Regions from separate parts of the Homo sapiens genome. Here all the other regions are linked to region 3. The links are contacts of gene promoters, found by promoter capture Hi-C in human tissues and cell types (Jung and others, 2019). All regions are on one chromosome and are shown on one strand. The core of a region is centred on a gene start or on the middle of the fragment in contact, and the rest is flanking DNA. Distances in the headings are between cores, read along the strand shown.

Region 1 (4,262 bases), core at 1,321-3,820, 71 kb after region 3:
AGAAGTGAAGTGCCAAGATGGCCAACATTTGTTTTCAAGCAGGTCAGCATAAAGGGCATGTGTGCCGGTATACAGCAAGGATTCAGCAAACAAGGCAGAATAGTCACTTCTGCATCCACTAGCGTCATCCAACTGTACCATTATTTCAACCTTATTGTAGATTTGAAAATTTCCAAAATAAAACGTTTGGAAAACTCAGGAGGAAAAAAAAATTAAGGGGGTGATTTTTTTTTGAAACAGACATTTAACCCATTTCCTGTTTGCTCCAAGAATACCGTGCTGGCAGCCAACTGCAGTTTTTTTTTCTAAACGGGAAATGCGTTCAAATAAATGAGATCCTTCACAACAACCCAAGACCTGCCCAAAGTCACCCTCTTTGCAGGGGAAATATTAATATCCATCTTAGAGAGCAACCTGGTCTTTCATCTACATACTGCCAGAAACACAATGGAAATTCCACTTCTTCCTGAAGATAAATTCCAGGTGTCTTGCAGACAAATATTATTCATTAAAGCATTTTTCTAAAGTAGAAGGGTCAACCAAGCTGTGATGATTCTTTGATGGTTAAAAAAAAAAAAGCTTTTAAGTTTCATAATTCACAATTCCGGTACTTTCCAATAGGAAGTTCCACGTTCTGTTCTAAGACCACCAGAAAATAGGTTTACAAGTGAATTGCATCCTACCTGCCCACTTCTCCCATCTTTTCGGGCCTAGTAAATGTGACTTACTTTGCATTTCAATAACCTTTGCCAATAGTACTCTATCGCTGATATCTCCGAAATCATAAATCCTAAAATATTTTCAGTAAGATACTATTTAGGACGGGATAATAAATATATGAGTTACAGTATAAAGCCGGGCCCAGTGGCTCATGCCTGTAATCCCAACAGTTTGGGAGGCTGAGGCGGGAGGATCACTTAAAGCCAGGAGTTCAAGACCAGCCTGGGCAACACAGTAAGACCCCATCTCTATAAAAAATACAAAAAATTAGCCGGGAGTGATGGTCCACACTTGTAGTCCCAAGCTACCTGGGAGGCTGAGGTGGGAGGATCACCTGAGCCCAGGAGGTTGTTGCTGCAGTGAACTGTGATGGCACCACTGCACTCCAGCCTGGGTGACAGAAGGAGACTGTCTCCAACTGAAGAAACAACAACAACAACAAAAAGGCGGGGCACAGTGGCTCATACCTGTAATCCCAGCACTTCGGGAGGTCAAGGTGGGTGGATCACTTGAGGCCAGAAGTTCAAGACCAGCCTGGCCAACATGGTAAAACTCCGTCTCTACTAAAAATACAAAAACTAGCCAGGTGTGGTAGCACACACTTGTAATCCCAGCTACTTCAGAGGCTGAGGTGGAGCTTGCAGTGAGCTGAGACTGTGTCACTGCGCTTCAGCCTGGGCTACAGAGCGAGACTCCATCTCAAAAAAACAAAAACAAAAAAACACAAAAAACAAACAAAAAAGCACAAAAAACAACAACAAAACCAAACAAACAAAAAACAAGATACAGTATAAACATGTGGAAAACCATAAAAATGGAGGGTCAATGTTAAAAACAGTTTAAATTCATTACTCAACATTAAACATCTAGTGATGCGTAATGATGTTAAAAGACTGTCTTGTATGTAAGCAGCTCACAGTTGTGTGGGACGTATAAAACACATGTATATATGCAGGTATGTTTGTGTGTATGAATGTGTAACATATACATAAAAACTAAAAAGGAGGGTGAGGATGAAGAGAGATGATAAACTCTCGGGTGTTTGATGTAGTTGCTAAGTAAGGAAAATGGAGGTGCGAAGGCTTGCTAATTGTGCTCGAACTTACAGAGTAGAGGAACTGTGGAACTGAGATCAGGCCAGACTTGACCCCTGATTGAGCACAGGAAGCCCAGGTGAATGCCAGTAAGATGACGGGGCACTGCTAAAAATGCACTAGGACAGGAAGGTGGCTCTGGCTTTGGAGAAGATAGAAAAATCTAGTTTGGGGCAAACCATTTTTGAAAAGTTGGCACGTTACCAAATGGCAGCACCTAACAGCTAACTGGTGATATAATTCTGGAGCAAAGATACACCAAAGCCCACCAAACTGTTCAACTCACTCGTGCCTCACAAAACCACCAGTGGCTTAATACTCTAGACTTTTCAATAATTACCAAAGTAGTCCTAAATATTCCCATACCCTACCTGATGTAGTCCCTTCTACAGGTCTTAAGCACTTTTTACCTTTTCATCCCATTCAATGAAATCACTAGGGGGCAGCAGGGCTGGGCCATGGAGGTAGACCTCATTCAAGCTAGCACTGGTAAAGTGTCCACTGTGTGACAGTCACTTGAGACACATCACATAGGATGTGAGTACCCCAGAGTACACATCACATAGGATGACATCACATCACATCACATAGGATGACACAGATCTGTTACCCACCGATTCATTTACAAAATCAAATGTCAGAAAACTCTGAGCTAAAATGTCTGCCACCTTTCACTAGATTCAAGTTTGGGGGACTACTACCTAAATAAATAAGCTGTGTTTCGTGAAATTCAGTACATTCCTACACAGATCAATAACAACACATGGGAGAACAGGTTCACTTGACACCTTAGCTAGCTTGATGTAGGACCTCTGCCAAATTACCTCTGTACCTATGTTTTCTTGTCTGTTATATTTCAATCTTGATTTTATAAGTTTAAAACTGACCATAAAAACATTTCCTAAGTACCAAGTGCTATATAATTCTGCCATGCTCCTGGGTAGACCCAACAGGCCTGAGGCTACACTGGGCTGGCAGGAGTGCGTGTAGAACAGGAACAGATCAGCAGAGCGTGCCAATTCAGGACACCTGAAGTCAAGGTCTGTGCTGCAAACTCCCTGCCACTACTGAGCAGTGTCCTTTCTACTGCCCATTAGGGACAGTCTATTGATTATGAAAGATTAAAGTAGTCAATTACAGCCTCAGTAATTTAGGAAACCCTACTTTCGGCTCCAAGTGTGACTAAAATCCTTGACAGGCAAATCACTTTTCCTTACTCAAATCAACCACGTATCTGCATGTCTATGAAGGGTGGAGAGAATGTAGAGAAGGCACAAACCTAAGACTCGGTTTCTGCCCTCAAGGAGCTGATAATTTGGAAAGGAGAAATCACGTCACAAGCAAAGGACTGCAGAAAATCTGGAAGATAGCAATGAGAACAGTTTCACCAGGGTGGAGCAGTTGGGAGCCAGGATATGCAGCACAGCAGAGAGCAACAGAAGTGGGACTCCACTTCCAGATGGCAGATGGGGCCAATACTGAACCCTTAGGGTGAGCCAGAAAAGATCTGTAGGTGTCAAAGGAGACTGAGAGAGGGTAACTATAAAAAGAAGCCAATGTACAGAGTAGATGTTATGAGGGTAGGGATGTATCCAGTAAGTAGATGCAACAGAAAGTTGAGTGCTCAAGGCTGGGCATGGGCATGTGGCTCCGGCCTGTAGTCCCAGCACTTTGGGACTGTGATTGTGCAACTGCACTCCAGCCTGGGCAACAGGGCAAGACTATGCCTCCAAATTATGAGACACATCTCATTTAAACCTCCCAACAGAGGAGTTTCTAGCTCTCATTTGGGGAAAGTAGGGCCCAGAAGGGTAAAGTAGTGTAAACCAAAGAAAATGACTGGCCGGACGCCATGGCTCACACCTGCAATCCCGGCACTTCGGGAGGCCAAGGTGGGGAGATCACTTGAGCTCAGGAGTTTGAGACCAGCGTGGGGAACACGGCAAAACCCCATATCTACAAACAGGTAACATTTGGGTTTTTGACAATCATCAAAAATGGTTAAGCTTTCAAAGGTCAAGCCTTTGATAAATACCATTTATACTACCTATTATAAACCATAGTAGTATAGAGAAGAGTGGTCACTTAAAGAGTAGGTAATGGGTATACAGGTCACTATATTATGCTTTGGTTCGTGTTCTAAATTTTCTACATTTTTCTGTAATGTTTTGCATATTCAAACAATCCAACTATACAAAGTCATCTTTGCAAAAACTGGGAAAAACTGAACACTGGGTACTGGAAAAACTGTTGGTTAAAGAAAAAAAAGAAGCCCTTATCTGTTAGAAACATACTCAAGTATGAAAAGTATGTAAGAGGCCGGGTGTGGTGGCTCACACCTATAATCCCAGCACTTTGGGAGGCTGAAGCGGATGAATCACAAGGTCAGGAGTTCAAGACCAACCCGGCCAACATGGTGAAACCCCATCTCTACTAACAGTACAAAAA
Region 2 (4,016 bases), core at 910-3,409, 120 kb before region 3:
TAATCCCAGCACTTTGGGAGGCAAAGGCGGGCAGACAGCTTGAGCCCAGGAGTTTGAGACCAGCCTGGGCAACATGAGGAAACCCCATCTCTACAAAAACTATAAAAATTAGCCAGGTGTGGTGGGGCACACCTGTGGTCCTGGCGACTTGGAAGGCTGAAGTGGGAGGCTCGCTCAAGCCTGGGAGGTTGAGACTGTAGTGAGCCATGATCATGCCACTGCACTCCAGCCTGGGAGACAGAACAAGACCCTGTCTCAAAAACAAAACCAAAAAAAAGGCCAGGGATGGTGCCTCACGCCTGTAATCCCAGCACTTTGGGAGGCCGAGGCGGGCAGATCACCTGAAGTCAGGAGTTTGAGACCAGCCTGGACTACCTGGCGAAACCCCACCTCTACTAAAAATATAAGAATTAGCTGGGCGTGGTGGTGCATGCCTGTAATTGCAGCTACTTGGGAGGCTGATACAGGAGAATTGCTTGAACCTGGGAGGCGGAGGTTGCAGTGAGCCGAGATCCCACCACTGCACTCCAGCCTGGGCAACAAGAGCAAAACTCCATCTCAAAAAAAAAAAAAATGTATGTGGGGGAACTGGAAACTCAAGAATCTCTGAGTACAATTTGTATACAGGCAAGAGTCCGTTGCTAGCCATCCCTCCTATGAATTAATTCCTGTTGTCTTGGGCACTCTCTGTCAGCCCCACAGGGAATGGGGTTGAACATCTCTGCCACTGAGAGGCTGTGGACCTGGGAAAGTCTTGGTTTGCTCACCTGTGAAATGGAGCCAGTATCAATCTAAGGATGTTAAGGTGAAATGGAGTCACATAGGGCCTGGCATAAGACGTGGTACCCAGAGCCACTCAAAAGGCCCTTCCTGGCCCTGGTGGAGTGGGCACAGCCCACCTGGGTGTTGACCTCCTCAGAGGGGCTGGGAGGATGGGTTCAGCTGAAGGAAGAAGGGGTAGATGCTTAAGGAATTTCTAGATTTGGAGCAAAATTGACATTGGTGACAGCGACCTCTTTAGGGCCACCCCCTCTAGCCTTCCAGACCCCACTCCGGGAACTCCCACATTCTGGGGAAGTACTCGTTGGCACCGTTGCTAAAGTCTCATTAGGACTGGCAGAAAGGGGGCTGCCGCTGATTCCCCAGGTGAGCTTCTAAGTTGGAGATGGGTGCCCCCAGGGGGATAGGCAGAGCTTGCCTTCAGGTCTGTGCCAGCCCCAGGGCACAGGGTCTGAGGTCCCGGGTCCTAGGAGCCCTGCACCCTAAGACATGTATGGGTAAATCAAAGCCCGTCCTCTGCACGGAGGTCCCATCTCTCCAGGTCTGCTCTGTGCGGGGGGATGCAGCCAGGTCAGCTCAGACCAGCTTCGGTTCTCCCTGGTCACCAGGGCGCACTGCCCCTCTAACAGAGGGCCAAGGAGCTCCTCCTCCTCTAAGCCAGGTGACCCCTTCCTTGACTGCCCCAGGCATGCTCTCGGGGACAAGGGAAATGCTTCCTGGGCTGCAGAACAGAGGTCAGCAAAAGGCCAAGCCCTCCCCAGCCCGACCCTCCCGCCCCAGCAGGAGGGGCAGGCGCCTACGTGGGTGTGCTGGGAGGAGCACAGGGCCTCGACCGCCTGGAGTCTGTTCTCAGCCACCAGGAGCTTCTCCCGCAAACTCTCGACCTCCTGTTTGCCCTGGGCTTCTGCCCGCTGCAGCCGCTCGTAGTCCAACATCTTCTTCTCGGCCAGCGAGATCTGCTCCTTGAGGAACTCGATAGCCTGCGCCTGGCCCCGGTACTCCACGTCCAGTTTTTCCAGCTCGTGCACACGCAGCTCGGCATCCCGGCGCTGGTCCTGGGCCTCCTGCAGCTCCAGCCGGTGCTGGCTGGCTTGCACCTCCAGCTGGGCCCGCCAGTGCCGCTGCAGCCCAGCCAGCTCCTCCTGGGCCTCCTGCAGCTTCTCTCGCAGGGCCTCCTTCTCCTTCACGTGCATGGCGGTCTCCAGGTCATGCTTGGCCTGCAAGTTACCCAGCTCCAGCTGGTGCTCCATCTTGATGCCCTCCATCACTGCCTTCAGCTCGCCGATCTCCTTCTGCTGGGCGCCTGGGCCCGAGTTCAGGGTGGCTTTGAGGTCCTCCAGGGACTTCTGGTGGTCCGAGGCCAGCGAGTCCAGCTTGGATTTCCAGTTGTCCATTAGCCCCATGTTCTCGCTGGTGGCCTGCTGAACCTTGTCCTTCAGGCCCGCCACCTCCTGTGCGTACTTCTCGTTGGCCGCGCGGAGCTTGTCCACCTCCGCCTGGTAGGCCTTCAGGGCCTTCTCGTATTTATCCCGCAGCACCCCACTCTCCCTCTGGTGTTCCTTGCTGGCCGAGAGCAGCCGCTCCCGTAGCCGCAGGATCTCGGCGGCGTCTGGGTGGTCCGGAGGTGGGGGACCCGAGTGCAACAGGCACTGCTGGAGCTCCTCGATTTCACCTCGGCGCAGGGTGAGCTCCTCCTCCAGCTGCAGCACGCGCGACTTCTCGGCCACTGTGGTCAGCTGTGGGGAGAGAGGGAGACAGGGATCAGCGGGCTGGCTGGCTGGCTGGAAGGTAAGGAGGGCACAATGGTGGGGGCCGGGTAGGGGGCGTCCATTCGAGGGCACCAGCCCCAGCAGGTGGAGGTCATGGGAAGGGAAAGGCGCTCACTCCCTCCTGAGTGCTGGCTGGATGTAGAGGCCTGGCCCATCACAGTATCCAGAAAGACTTCCCTGGCTGTACCCCAAAGATTCAGAGCCAACTGTCGCCACTCCTCTACCTAGGTGGCTTGGACAAATTGGTGGTTAAAAGAAACCACCTATTTGAGGTTACAGCTTTTTTTTTTTTTTTTTTTTTTTTTTTGAGTCTCGCTCTGTCACGCAGGCTGGAATGCAGTGGCGTGATCTCACCTCACTGCAACCTCTACTTCCCAGGTTCAAGCGATTCTCCTGCCTCAGCCTCCCGAGTAGCTGGGACTACAGGCATGCACCACCATGCGCCTGGGGAATTTTTGTGTTTTTTTAGTAAAGATGGGGTGTCACTCTTTTGCCTAGGCTGGTCTCGAACTCCTAGCCTCAAGTGATCCACCCGCCCTGGCGTCCCAAAGTGTTGGGATTATAGGCATGAGCCACCGCCCAGCATTTTTTTTTTTTTTAAAAGAGACGGGGGTCTAGCTATGTTGCCCAGGCTGGAGTGCAGCCGTGCAATAATAGCTCACTGTACCCTCAAATTCCTGGGCTCAAGCAATCTTCCTGCCTCAGCCTCAAAAGCAGCTGGGACTCTATGGGCATGAGCCACCATGCCCAACTGAGTTAAAGTTCTTTGTATTTTTATTAAGAAATTTTTTTTTTGTTAACATTCTTTTTAAAGAACAGAGGCCACAGTGAATTTTGCATTATCCTGCCTTAGGAAGGATATCCAGCCCAAGGGGCTGGCTGGAGGCAGTGGCCAAGAAGGGTCCAGTTTAATGCTTAAAGCAGAAGAGGGTGCTCCCAGACCCATCTTTCAACAAAAAACTCTTAGAGGCTCCATTCTCCAAAAAACCACCTTGATCACGTTGATGGTCATAGATATGAAAATGATATATTTTCAAGCTTTAAATCTATTACAAGCTTTAAACATTTTGTTTCTGAAGGTATCCTTTAGTTCAATAAACTTATTGTTTTGTTTTTTGGTTTTTGTTTTTTTCGAGATGGAGTCTCACTCTCTTGCCCAGGCTGGAGTGTAGTGGCACCATCTCGGCTCACTGCAACCTCCACCTCCCCGGTTCAAATGATTCTCCTGTCTCAGCCTCCCAAGTAGCTGGGACTACAGGCGTGCACCACCCCGCTCAGTTAATTTTTGTATTTTTAATAGAGACAGGGTTTCACCATGTTGGCCAGTCTGGTCTTGAACTCCTGACCTCAGATGACCTCAGATGATTCACCAACCTTGGCCTCCCAAAGTGCTGGGATTACAGGTGTGAGCCACCACACCCAGCCCTGTTTTTGTGTTTTCATCAGGTTGAACCCTAGATCAAGATG
Region 3 (3,859 bases), core at 1,039-3,538:
TCCCCAGCACTCCCTGGTTCCCCAACATTGCTGTTTTTCAGTCCCAGGGGAGCGGCTGGAGTTTTTAAGTTCTGAGCTCTGTTTGGGCCCAAGTCCAATAGGTCACAAAAGGCTCAGTCTAAAAAAAAGAAATGTCCTGACAGTGCAGCTTTGCCCTAAGAGTCACCTCCATCTCTGGTTCTCCTGGCATTCCATCAGTTAGAGGAGAGCCCTAGCAGCGCCAAAAGGCCTCCTGTAGAGTGGGGGTTTTTGGAGAATTATGAAAGGAACCGTGTTCTGTACTTATTAAAAATTAGTTTCTAAACTGTGTTATGTGATGGGAGGGATGTGTGTCATAGTGATTACAAGGAAAACATGAAGATTACAAAGGAACAATCCTATGGAAAAACCGCGGAGACATTTCAAGAAAAGTGTATATTTCAAGAGGAGTGTGTATTTTCTCCTCCGGAAAAATAAAAGACCTGTGAATAATGATTGAAAAAACAGACAAGACCGCTCCATCAGTTTAAAGGGGGAATAGGGGAGAGATGGCCAATTCAAACATTTTTTCCAAATTACATGGAAAGAAAAACACTGTGTTAAGTTGTGAATCTGTATACGTTAATACTATCGTTAAAACCAACTGCTTGGCCAGACGCGGTGGCTCACACCTGTAATCCCAGCACTTTGGGAGGCTGAGGCAAGCGGATCACTTGAAGTCAGGAGTTTGAGACCAGCCTGGTCAACGTGGCGAAACCCCATCTCTACTGAAAATACAAGTATTAGCCAGGTGTGGTGGCACACGCTTGTAGTCCCAGCTACTCGGGAGGTTGAGGCAGGAGAATCACTTGAACCTGGGAGCCTGACATTGCAGTGAGCTGAGATCACACCACTGTACTCCAGTCTGGGTGACAGAGTGAGACTCCATCTCAAAAACAAAAAACAAGAAACAAAACAAAGAATGGTCAAAGCACTTGTGAATCTGAAGTACCTACTTTCTTTTCTTCTTATTTTTTTAGAAACAGGATTTCACTCTGTCCCCCGGGGCTGGAGTACATTGACTTGATCATGGTTCACTGTGGCTTCAACCTCATGGGCTCAACCGATTCTCCTGCCTCAGCCTCCCGAGTAACTGGGACTACTGTCGCGTACCACCACAACTGGATAATTTAAAAAATTTTTTTTGTAGAGATGGGGTCTCACCATGTTGCCCAGGCTGGTCTCAAACTCCTCGGCTTGAGGGATCCTCCCACCTTAGCCTCCCAAAGTTCTGGGATCATCATTATTGAATATTATGACAATTTGGGCTATGGGAGGAAAGATTGGGTAGAAAAACAGCCCATAAGAATGCTCAAAACCCTTGCAAGGTTGAAGTATTTACTTTTTCTTTTTTGAGACAGGGTCTTGCTGCAGACCAGGTTGGAGTGCAGTGGTGTGATCAGAGATCACTGCAGCCTGCACCTCCTGGGCTCAAGCACTCCTCCGCCTCAGCTTCCTGAGTAGCTGGAACTGCAGGTGCGCGCCACCACGCCCGGCTACTTTTTTAATTTTTATTTTTGTAGAGACGGGGATCTCACTTTGTTGCCCAGGCTGGTCTCGAACTCCTGGGCTTAATCGCTCTTCCGGTCTCTGTCCCCCAAAGTGCTGGGATTAGAGGGGTGAGCCACCGCACCGGCCTTGAGTCCCTATTTTCCTGGAATGAACATTGCATTTCATCTGACAAAAGGACGGTTTCAGTTTCCTCCTCTGCAAAATGGGGTGGGGGTGGAATTCCCATCTTGCAGCCGAGAATTCCCTGATAATAAACGTCGAGTACCGAGCGCGGTTGAGGCGCAGGAGCCTACCCAACGGGAGCAGCTCACTAGGACATTCAGAGCAATCTGGAAAAGTGGGCACGGGCAGCCCCAGACGTCATCCCCGGACCCCGCTGCCCAGCAGCGCCCGGACGCCAGCGTTGTCCGTGTCCCAACACCGAAGCCCGCGTTTGGCCGCAACCCCTCCAGGCCCTGCTCCTCCCACGCCGCCGCGGAGCGGATCTTCCACAGAAACCACACACAAACGTCCGTTCCGAGAGCGACCTGCTTTCTCGGAAGGCGTCGCGGCCACAGCTCGCCTTCCTGTCGCTCCCAGGCCGGGCGCCAGGTCTCCCATAGCAACCGCGGCCTCCAGCGATGGCCGCCAGGGCACCACCGGAACCCTCTTCGCAGGCACAGAGAGGCGCGGGTACGTAACTTCCGCTCGCGCCCGGCGGAAGCCAGGGGGCGGGGCTTGCGTGGCGGCGTCAAGGGGCGGTGCCTCGGGTGGCGGGAAGAGGAGGCGCGAGAATGGAGGTGGAGGCCGTCTGTGGTGGCGCGGGCGAGGTGGAGGCCCAGGACTCTGACCCTGCCCCTGCCTTCAGCAAGGCCCCCGGCAGCGCCGGCCACTACGAACTGCCGTGGTGAGGTCCCAGGCCGTAAAGAATGGGCGCGTTTGGACGTGAGGGTGGGCGAGTGGCGGGCCGTGCTCCGGAGAAACTCGGGGGTCAGGGGCTCGTTTTGGGGAATCCCGAGGGAGGAGGAGGCCCCGGGTGGCATCGAGATGATTTCAAGAAGGCGACGGACATGGATCGAGAGTGGCCGGTCTAAACTCTGCGAGCGGAGTCTCGCTCACTACAATGCTTATGACAATTAGGGCTACCCCGGGTGGCCACCTACTCTGACCTAGTTGGTTTTTTCAAAAGTTTTTGTGTATAGTAGTGTATGACCTAGTGTTTTCAAAAACTTCAATCTTTTAAAAAAAATATCGATTACATGTTGAAAATAATATTTTGACTGTTAGGTTCAATAACATTTACATTTGAAATTTTTTTAAAAAAATCAAGACGGGGGTTTTGCTGTGTTGCCCAGGCTGATGTCCAGCTCCTTGGCTCAAGTGATCCCCCTGCCTCAGCCTCCTAAGTAGATGGGACTACAGGCACGCACCACCATGCCCAGTTAATTTTTTTTTTTTAGATGGAGTCACACTTTGTCACACAGGCTGGAGTGCAGTGGTGTGATTTCTGCTCACTACAACCTGCATCTCCCTGGTTCAATCAATTCTGCCTCAGCCTTCCTAGTAGCTGGGATTACAGGCATGTACCATCACACCCTGCTAATTTTGTGTTTTTAGTAGAGGCTGGGTTTCACCATGTTGGCCAGGCTGGTCTCGAAGTCCTGATCTCAAGTGATCCGTCCGCCTCGCCTTCCCAAAGTGCTGGGATTACAGGCATGAGCCACTGTACCCAGCCTAGGCCTACGGTGTCTAGCCAGCTATGCTGTGTATTTGGCACACGTCTGCAGAAACTGGCAGGTAATCCTTGCCTGGCATGGTGGCTCACGCCAGTAATCCCAGCACTTTGGGAGGCTGAGGTGGGCAGATCACCTGAGGTTGGTAGTGACCCAAGATCGCACCATTGCACTCCAGCCTGGGCAACAAGAGCAAAACTCTGTCTCCAAAAAAAAAAAAAAGAAAAGAAACTGGCAGGTAAGGGATGAGAAAGGAGCTTGGTTGCACCCATGTTGTCACACCAAATGATGTCAGTGCTGTATGTGCTGGGCCTCTTGTGACGGGCGGACAGGGTTGCAGCACAGTGTCACATTGCTCCAGATGACCTGTGCTGGCCGTGCTCCAGCAGCAACAGGTGTTTCTCTGCTGTGGCAGGTTTGAAGCCTATGCTGTACAATTCTCATGCCTTTAACTTTTCAAATGGCACTTGGGCATCTTATTACATTTTATTTATTTATTATTTATTTTTGAAACAGAGTCTCACTCTGTAGCCCGGGCTGGAGTATAGTGGCATGCATGATCTCAGCTCACTGCAACTTCTGCCTCCCAGGTTCGAGCTACTGTGCCTTAGCCTCCC

The links. The method cuts DNA at HindIII sites, captures the fragments that hold promoters and counts their contacts. A contact is called where the count stands out against the background at its distance.
Region 1: a fragment that was not itself captured here is called in contact with the fragment with the promoter of RFC2 in region 3 in 4 of the 25 tissues and cell types used here (IMR-90 fibroblasts, dorsolateral prefrontal cortex, lymphoblastoid cells and 1 more).
Region 2: a fragment that was not itself captured here is called in contact with the fragment with the promoter of RFC2 in region 3 in 3 of the 25 tissues and cell types used here (dorsolateral prefrontal cortex, hippocampus and mesenchymal stem cells).

Annotation. Positions count from the first base shown.
Region 1 is chr7:74,181,884-74,186,145 of GRCh38, reverse strand. The region is part of intron 1 of EIF4H (eukaryotic translation initiation factor 4H); the gene reads right to left. Among named protein-coding and RNA genes, the nearest start is that of MIR590, 7.2 kb to the left of the region's middle. The HindIII fragment of the contact is 4,931 bases long and covers 105-4,262 here.
Region 2 is chr7:74,374,387-74,378,402 of GRCh38, reverse strand. It overlaps CLIP2 (CAP-Gly domain containing linker protein 2), which reads right to left. Exons shown (of 17, transcript NM_003388.5): 10 at 1,581-2,516. Among named protein-coding and RNA genes, the nearest start is that of GTF2IRD1, 78 kb to the left of the region's middle. The HindIII fragment of the contact is 5,767 bases long and covers 1-4,016 here.
Region 3 is chr7:74,252,828-74,256,686 of GRCh38, reverse strand. It overlaps RFC2 (replication factor C subunit 2), which reads left to right and starts at 2,288. Exons shown (of 11, transcript NM_181471.3): 1 at 2,288-2,416. The coding sequence starts at 2,304. RefSeq lists enhancers at 1,895-1,974, 1,448-2,050, 2,385-2,614, 2,051-2,653, 2,654-3,256 and 2 more and a silencer at 2,215-2,334. The HindIII fragment of the contact is 19,783 bases long and covers 1-3,859 here.